Linked DNA regions of Homo sapiens: all the other regions are linked to region 3. Evidence: promoter capture Hi-C in 16 types of primary human blood cells and fetal thymus (Javierre and others, 2016). All regions are on one chromosome and are shown on one strand. Each heading gives the region's core, a stretch centred on a gene start or on the middle of the fragment in contact. The rest is flanking DNA. Distances are from core to core; before and after follow the strand shown. Region 1 has its middle 55 kb from the start of TMPRSS11B. Region 2 overlaps CENPC (centromere protein C). Region 3 holds the start of GNRHR (gonadotropin releasing hormone receptor).

Evidence for each region. The method cuts DNA at HindIII sites, captures the fragments that hold promoters and counts their contacts. A CHiCAGO score of 5 or more calls a contact.
Region 1: a fragment that was not itself captured here is called in contact with the fragment with the promoter of GNRHR in region 3 in 1 of 17 cell types (neutrophils); the score reaches 5.2 in neutrophils.
Region 2: a contact is called between a fragment that was not itself captured here and the fragment with the promoter of GNRHR in region 3, in 4 of 17 cell types (fetal thymus, naive B cells, total B cells and 1 more). The highest score is 6.2, in fetal thymus.

The regions. Positions count from the first base shown.
Region 1 is chr4:68,189,459-68,192,158 of GRCh38, forward strand. It overlaps the pseudogene FTLP10 and the pseudogene TMPRSS11BNL. Among named protein-coding and RNA genes, the nearest start is that of TMPRSS11B, 55 kb to the right of the region's middle. The HindIII fragment of the contact is 1,386 bases long and covers 724-2,109 here.
Region 2 is chr4:67,492,978-67,495,677 of GRCh38, forward strand. It overlaps CENPC (centromere protein C), which reads right to left. Exons shown (of 19, transcript NM_001812.4): 13 at 2,182-2,235; 14 at 907-1,011; 15 at 1-20. Among named protein-coding and RNA genes, the nearest start is that of CENPC, 51 kb to the right of the region's middle. The HindIII fragment of the contact is 493 bases long and covers 1,098-1,590 here.
Region 3 is chr4:67,753,084-67,755,783 of GRCh38, forward strand. GNRHR (gonadotropin releasing hormone receptor) reads right to left here and starts at 1,305. Exons shown (of 3, transcript NM_000406.3): 1 at 731-1,305. The coding sequence starts at 1,252. The HindIII fragment of the contact is 5,914 bases long and covers 888-2,700 here.

The DNA of each region.
Region 1 (2,700 bases), core at 167-2,666, 440 kb after region 3:
CATTATCAAGCAGAAAATTGCATAAAGCAGAGATGAGAAGGAATATTTCTTCAGAATAATTGATGGCAATAATATTAATTAGCATGGATTGGGCATCTGCTATATTCCAATGTACTTTGTATTACGTAGCCAATGTACTTTGCTATCACATTTATTAGCACAGTCTCCACAACAATCCTGCAGCATAGGTGTTATCTTCATTTTATAGACAAGGAAAAATTGAGGCTCTGGGAAGTTATATAATGTATTCAAGAGTAAGTACACACTACACTAGGATTTAGATTTAGTGCAGTTGACTGCATAACCTGGGCTCTTTACAGAGCTGTCTGTATGCTGTACACTGTCACTCTGTGCCTAGTCATACAGTAATGGCAGTGTCTAGGAGATTGGGCTCAACCAGAAGAGGATCTTTAATGCTAGCTGAGGGGTAGCAGTGATGGAAAGTTGTTGAGGTAAACTGTATTTGAGGAAAATTAATCTGACCATGAGTTTTAGGGAAGATTTGTCTGGAAACAGGAAAAGGGCAGTCAGCCTGAGGAGCTAGCCAATTAGACACGCAGGAATTGTTAAGGAGTCCTGAAGCTTGTGTCTGAAGTAACATTATTATGCTTTGAGGCTTCCTCAGGGATGTTCAATATTTTGGCACATAAATCAATAATAATTCCTGGGAAGCACTCAGGTCACATAAGTTTGATTATTATAGCAGTGTATGCTAAAGTGAAAAGCTTTGTCCTGTGACCTCTTCATGACTGCCTTTTGGCCCATGCTGTTTATAGATACTTGAATTTACATGCATGGGAAAACAAAACAGAGACATCTCCCGTGGTTGCAGTCATCTCTGAGAGATATCTGGGCCCTTCAACTTTAATCTCACATTTATGTTCAATACCAAAATTGACCTCCAATGTTAATGCTAGTTGAGAGCTTAATCTGTTCTACAATTCCAGGAGTCCCATGAGCAGGGAAGAAGAGCAGACATAGTCCTGCGACACTGATGGAAATAAAAGCAATAATTGCCTTCATCTGAAATGTGTTTATTTGTGAGTGTTTCCACACATATTTTCTTTTCTTTTTTATCCTTAGTACTGTTCTGTGAGTGAGGCAAAGCAAGTATTACTACTAACATGTAATGAGATAGTGGAACAGATTCAAAGCGATACAGTAACTTGCCAAAGACTCTAGGGCTATTAAATGGCAAAGGCTAGGCTCAGGTTGTCTAAATCTATTCTATGGTTACCTCGGCTAGTTCATGCCACTCCAAACCCACATGTAGGGAACACAGCATAGCTATTTTACTTCTTATTATGGTGACTAGAAGGTTTTCTTGATCTCAAAGTCTAGTGTAAATATGCTGTCTCCTAACCTGTATCTACTAAGAATTCTAGGGGTATTTCCACAAAGTGTTTAGCTGACTTGCAAGTCAAAAGACAGGAGAAAACAGGATCTATATTTATGCTACTGCTAAATAAAAATTTTAGAGCATCAAACATTGGTCTATGGGACTATCTAATGTTTTCTGAACATAAATATTTAGGAAACCAAAAGGATGACACATTTATAATTTGAGGATTAATGTATCCTCAATACATCTAGTGAACTCAACTATATGGCCCCAATCTTAGGTTTCATATTGAAAAATTAGTCTGACATTTATGATAATGCTTGATATTCATAGCTTATTGGCTAAGGACTATAACATATCAATAGATTCTTTTCACAGAGAAATTTGAAGTGTCCTGGTATGTATGATCAGTTGATCTCTTTTTTGATGGTTAATGTTGGTTACTTACACCAGTGTGATGACTTGAGAAAAGATATATTGTCTGTAAATGCTAGAACTTTGAAATGCATCAACCATCTGTTAACAGAGAAAATAGAGTCAAATATCAAATTCCAGTACTTATATTTCAGAGAATTAACAATGAAATATAGGAAAATACTAACTTACCTAGTCTCAAGAATTTGGCTAAGATAGTTATTTTCTGGTGATGTCTCCCTTTCATAATTGCTATTATATGGGATATCCAGCATTTTAAAGCTACCTTGGTAGAAGTAGATCCTGTTTGCTGTGAGATCAAGAAATGATCCAAGAATTATTTAAATTAAATAAGCTTCAAATCCAGATATAGATTACACAGCAATAACAACTAGTATGTATTGTGCTCATATTAGATATTGATACACTCTTTGGGTACAGTTGACTAGATCATCTAGGCATTGTGTTTACAGGACCAAGTATGAGATAGATATATATTTATATTATGTGATATAAATATATATTATATATATCTATATTCCTGTTTCAACCAATATGTTACTTTGTCTGAACTTTGAGATATATATATCAATCATAAATAGACAGAGATAAGAGAATGTTTGAGATAGTAGATGAAGATATAAAGTTCAGACAGAGTAAAATGTTGGTTGAGACAGGAATATATACTATAAAGAGATTTCCATCTATAGTAATCAACTGTCAGATTATGAATAAAAATAGTTACCATGTAAGTATCTACTATGTGAAGATACTTTAGAAAAACTTTATGAAATGTATTAATCGTTCAGAAGTGTAGTCTCAGAGAGACTAAGTAATTTACCCAAAATTATACAGCCACTAAGAAGAGCCAAGTATCAAAACTCAATTTGTCTGACTCCAAAGCCTATACTTAAGCTATTATATTTCCTTCCTAAAATTTCATA
Region 2 (2,700 bases), core at 94-2,593, 260 kb before region 3:
TCCACTAATCACGAATCCTCCTGAAATTTAACAAAAAAAGTAAAATATACATGGGAAAGACAAAATCTTGAAACAAAACTCCTTAAATTTAATATGGCACATTTCCTTTCAAAGTACCAAAGAATATATGTCTGCAGCTAATAGTTAAAATAACACAAATACCAACCAATTTCATTATATCTCTACCACCCTAAATCAGAGGCTGATAAAACAGGATTAGATGATGAAACATGATTAGATGGTCCTATTGCTCCCCTGAAATCAACAGTCATCAGTGGAGGCTTTTAAAAAAAAAAAAAAAAGGAGGGGGCTAGCAATGAACTATTTATAGAAATCCACATGAGTTTAGTCCTTTGACTTAGATATATCCATCAAAGAAAGAAATATGGCCAGGCACAGTGGCTCACACCTGTAATCTCAGCACTTTGAGATGCCAAAGCGGGAGGACTGCTTGAGCCCATAAGATGAGACCAGCCTGGACAACATAGCAAGGCCTCATCTCTACAAAAATAAGAAAGAAAATAACTCTACGATTAACACTACACTTTCTTGCCCACCCTACACTACTTTGTAGAAAACTATGAGAAAATGGAAAATGGTTAATAGGAAAAATAATGAAAACTACTTTACCTTTACCAGTTACAATTTTCTCACGTTCTAATCTAACGCTTTATATTATGCAATTGGAAATCTTGTCAGATGATACAGGAATAACAACATTCAGCTACCAAAGAGAAAATATCAGCATCTCTACATTAATCAGACAAAAATGAATTTAAATCCTATTATCAAAATTTGGGGGGGTGATGATTAAGTAAGGTAATGTATATAAACATGTAGTGCAGTGTCTGGCACATAGTAAACAAATTTTTTATTGACAGATATTATAACATAAATAAGTTTTACCTGATGGCCTTCCTTGATAATCTATTCGCTCTCCTCGCCAGTACTCCAAAGGTTTCAAACGTGTTCTCTTGGTCCTGCGAACATTTGGTGTGTTGGAGGGCAATACTATAAAAAGATGTCAGACAAAAGTGTATACATAGTTTTTAGTTGATGGTACTTAGCAGTGGAAAGACTGTCTTTTAGAACATGAAAGCTTTATTTTTTAGAACATGAATATTTTTCTAGACAAAAGACTAGAAAAAACAAATATTTATGCTAACAATTAAAGAAAAGCCAATGGAAAAACAGGCTACCAAATTGGCAAATATTTAAAAACCTAATAATACTCAGCGTTGACAATGTTAAATGTACACTCATCTTATCTGAACAATGCAAAGTTCTGTATACTAAATTGAGTTTGTTGGCTTATCTTCAAATTCCCATGTTCTTACCTATTTTTTGTTTGCTAAAGCTATGCTGAAGCTAACGAGAAGTTGCCTACTGCTCTTAGGCATAATGCTCAATGTTCCCCTCTGTAAATACTGAAGCCCTGCTCAGGAACATTTTTATTTCCCTTTCCCTACTCCTGATTCATCATTTCACCCCAAGACAAGCATTAAGTATTGAGAGGTATAGCAGTCTCTCATCACATAGGCCCACAAAATACTGACAATATCTAAGTTCTGGAGTAAGGCAATGAGAGAAAGCTTCACTCCTATTGGTAATCTGAGTATGAGTGAAAGAGCACTCACAGCCTCAAATAAAGGGAGAAACATGGAAAGCCACCCAACATCACAGAAAGGTGGGAACTATCATGTATCTTGACTGGCAAATATCTCTTTGGGAACCATGGATTGTTAATCTTTACATGGGCCTCTCCATGGGTTCCACAGTTCTTAGCTTTGTCTACTTACTATCCTAGCTACTGCTTTGTTTAGGAGTCAACTGGATTAAAGTGGAAGGAGATGCTGTCAAGGAAGCCATCTACCTGGTAGTTACAGTTTCTTTGACAAAATTCTCCACCCTAGCTTCATAGCTAAGGGAGGATCATGCCCCCTACTATGGGGCAAAAAGTGAGAGGGCAATAGGATTTATAAATGGACAATAGACTAATTCAAGTGGCTTGTGGTGACTTACTATGAAATTCATAAAAACTAAGTGCATAATTTTAATTTATCTGCCAATTAATCCACATAATCGTATTTCTCCTGCTTAAGAAGAAATAAGTTATATTTAGAAACAGAAACTTAAGGTATTTTTCTCAATGAAAATATTAAAAAAGAAAAATATTCTTACCTAGTTTGTGATGGATTCTGTTCTTTGGTATCACTTTAGATTGTTTTGAGTCATCTACAAAATGCAAAAGATAATATCATAAGAAATGACTGCTAATTCCATGTTAAATTAAAATGTGTTTCCTGGTCAATTTCAGTATGAGTATTTTAAATAAAGTTTGACCTGATAATGTATTTTATTACTCCTTTTGCTTTTCATTGCTCAACTATAAAAACTAAGGAAAAGAACTATTTCTCTAGACTTTGCTACAATGAATACATTGCAAGTTTGTCCAATCCACCTTATTTTGTGGTTGTTCTGTTTTGTTTTGTTTTAGACCTTTAGCAGCCTGAAACCATGCTTTTTAGTTTCTGTCTCTGGCGACAAGTGGAAAAGAGGGATGAGGAAGGGGTTTTATTGGACCAACCAGAAACAGAAACTAAGAACTCATGACTGTATTCGCTCCCTTGGACACCCCTGGTTTTTATTCTAAACAGTGTAACAGTTAAAACAAACAAACAAACAAAAAAAACAACAGAT
Region 3 (2,700 bases), core at 55-2,554:
TGAAGGCAACCTGGAAAGATAATTGCCCTCTGTGGGGAGGGCCTGTGCCTACTCTGTCAGTCATATGGCTTTCTCAATAAGCTGCCTCCAGCAAAACTCAAGCTAACTTTAGGGAAATATTTGGATTTCCAAACATCCAAGATGTCTTACTTTTCTTCTATATTCAGTCCCACTTAGCTGCAAACTGCAGAGCAACATACTAACAAAGAATAATTCTCTCTAAGCTGCAGTGACAGAATTCTTAAAATTTCCACTGAAGAAACCCTAAATAAGAAACATTATAAATATTTTCTACCTAGGCAAATTTCATAATTCCTAAAAATTATCTCAACTAAACATTAAAGCCATGTCAACCAAAACAAAAAGAAAAACAGATAAAAGAATAGGATGGAGATAAGGTCAAGTTTGAGAATCGCATTTTTTTTGGGGAAGCATTTGCTACATAATAGAGATTATGTGAGCTACTTTATTTATTTATTCATCACAAAAGCAGTATTAAGTAAGCATTAACCCCCATGTTACATTTTATCGGTAAAGGAACTGAAACCAGAGAGGTTAAGAAGTTTGCCCAAGGTAACAGAACAGAGCCAGAATTAAACTTCACTCTCTGACTTCCAGAACCCAAGCTCTTAAAGGTAATACAGTACTTCCTTTGATAAGACCTTATATCAAATTTAGATAGGAAATCTATGATCACCATATCCAAATAAGTTTGTGTATAATGGCTTACCTGTGGTCCTGCAAAGACACTACTGAGGATCCAGGCCAGGCCAACCATGGACTGTCCGACTTTGCTGTTGCTTTTCAAAGCTAGGGGCCTCGTGATAGCCAGGGAGCGGTCCAGGCTGATCACCACCATCATGAAGGCTGGGGCATACATGGAGAAAAGCTTTAGATAACTGAGAACTTTGCAGAGTAACTCTCCAGCATACCATTGGACTGTAATGTTCCACATCCCATCCAGTGGCATGACAATCAGAGTCTCCAACAGGTTGGCTAAGGTCAGATGTTTTAAGAGCAGCTTCATTCTTGAGAGCTTTTTCCCTTTCTCTTTCTTCTGTGTCCACTTCTGAAGTTTCAACAAGAAAGAAGCATTAAAGGTCGCAGAGAGCAGAAAAAGGAAGAAAGTAACCGTCACTCGGATCTTTCCAGACAAGGTCAGAGTGGGGAGGTTGCCCTGCATCAGTGGGATGCTGTTGTTGATGGCTGAACAGTGATTTTGATTCTGTTCAGGAGAGGCACTGTTTGCCATATTTTCCCAGGACAGAGCTTCAAGCCTTGTGTCTCTGGTGCATCTGATATTTTATTGTAACCGAATCTAAAGTCCTGTTTTATTTCTGCCTTCTTTAGATGGAAACGTCACAGGTTTAGACGTATGTCAAATTTTGTCCCTGAGATACTTAATGTGAAAGATCAAGGTTAACTTGTTTTGTGTATTGGTAATCCAACAGAGTGCTAAAACAGAGCAGGCCAAATGCATTCTGAGGGCCACATGTAACTGTAGCACCTCAGCAGATGGTCTGGCTTTCACAACACTCTTCCTAAGTGAAGAAGGATAGTCACAGCCTAATTTTGAATTTAAAAGTCAGTCATGATATTATGATTTAAATAACTTTAAAAAATTTTTCTAAAAACTATTTAGTGTTAGTGTTCTGTCCAACATACAGATGTATAATGATAATGAAGAAAAATGAAAACAACTAGATCCAATTAAAATCCATTGTCTTAAGGAATTAACACATTTCTCAAAAACATTTCTTTGTTTTCCTTTTCAAACACACTGTTGAGCACTCGAACACTGGACAAATATATTCACTTAAAATTATTCTACAACAAATTAAAACTTTAAATTAGAATCAATCCAACTGACTGCATTCAAATTTATTAATCAATCTTACTGATCCAATCCATGCTTAAGTTAGAGTAAAACGGTTAATCAGTTTTTAAATTATTGCCTTGGTTTTTATAATTATCTAAATATTGTAGTTGCTGTTATTACACATTAATGCATAAGGAAACTAGTTATTGAAGAGAATACTGTGTAACTGCTGTAAGTGCATTTATATGTGTTTATGTTAGTATAATATGAATATGTTCTTTTATAGGTTATCTGATCATTTCAAATTGGGACCACTTAGGAACTTTTTCTGTGTTGTTTCTTTAACTTTCATGGTGAGTGCTGGATAGTTATTCATCAATACTGGTAAGACTTACATTGGAATTTATTAAATCACCAGCTTGATTTGTCTAATGCCAACAAGTTTGCTTCTGCAGCAGCCAAAGCAGGTACAATGTTAAGGATAAAAGTGGCTATTTTGACTTAGATGGTGCATTCTTATTGGTTCATTTATTATACTTGTTTATTCTGTCTTAAATATTTATTTATTTAATAAATAGTTACTAAATATTTACTATATACATTATCTTAGCCTTTGCTGGTGATAAAAAGTGAACACAACATCATCCAGCCCCTTTAAGGAGCTTGTTACCACAGAAGGTTAGATAAATGTTTTAGATATATCTTATGTATCTCCTCAGCTTCTCTGTGTACTGGCTGTCTCCTGAATCTTGAGCAGCTTAGACCAGTCCTGTACCTGAGCTCCTTTTTGACTGTCACTATATGTCCAGAATTACCAGCTTCTCTCACTACTTCCAGACTTGAAATATTTATATCCTCTATTTATATAGAGTATCAAGGAA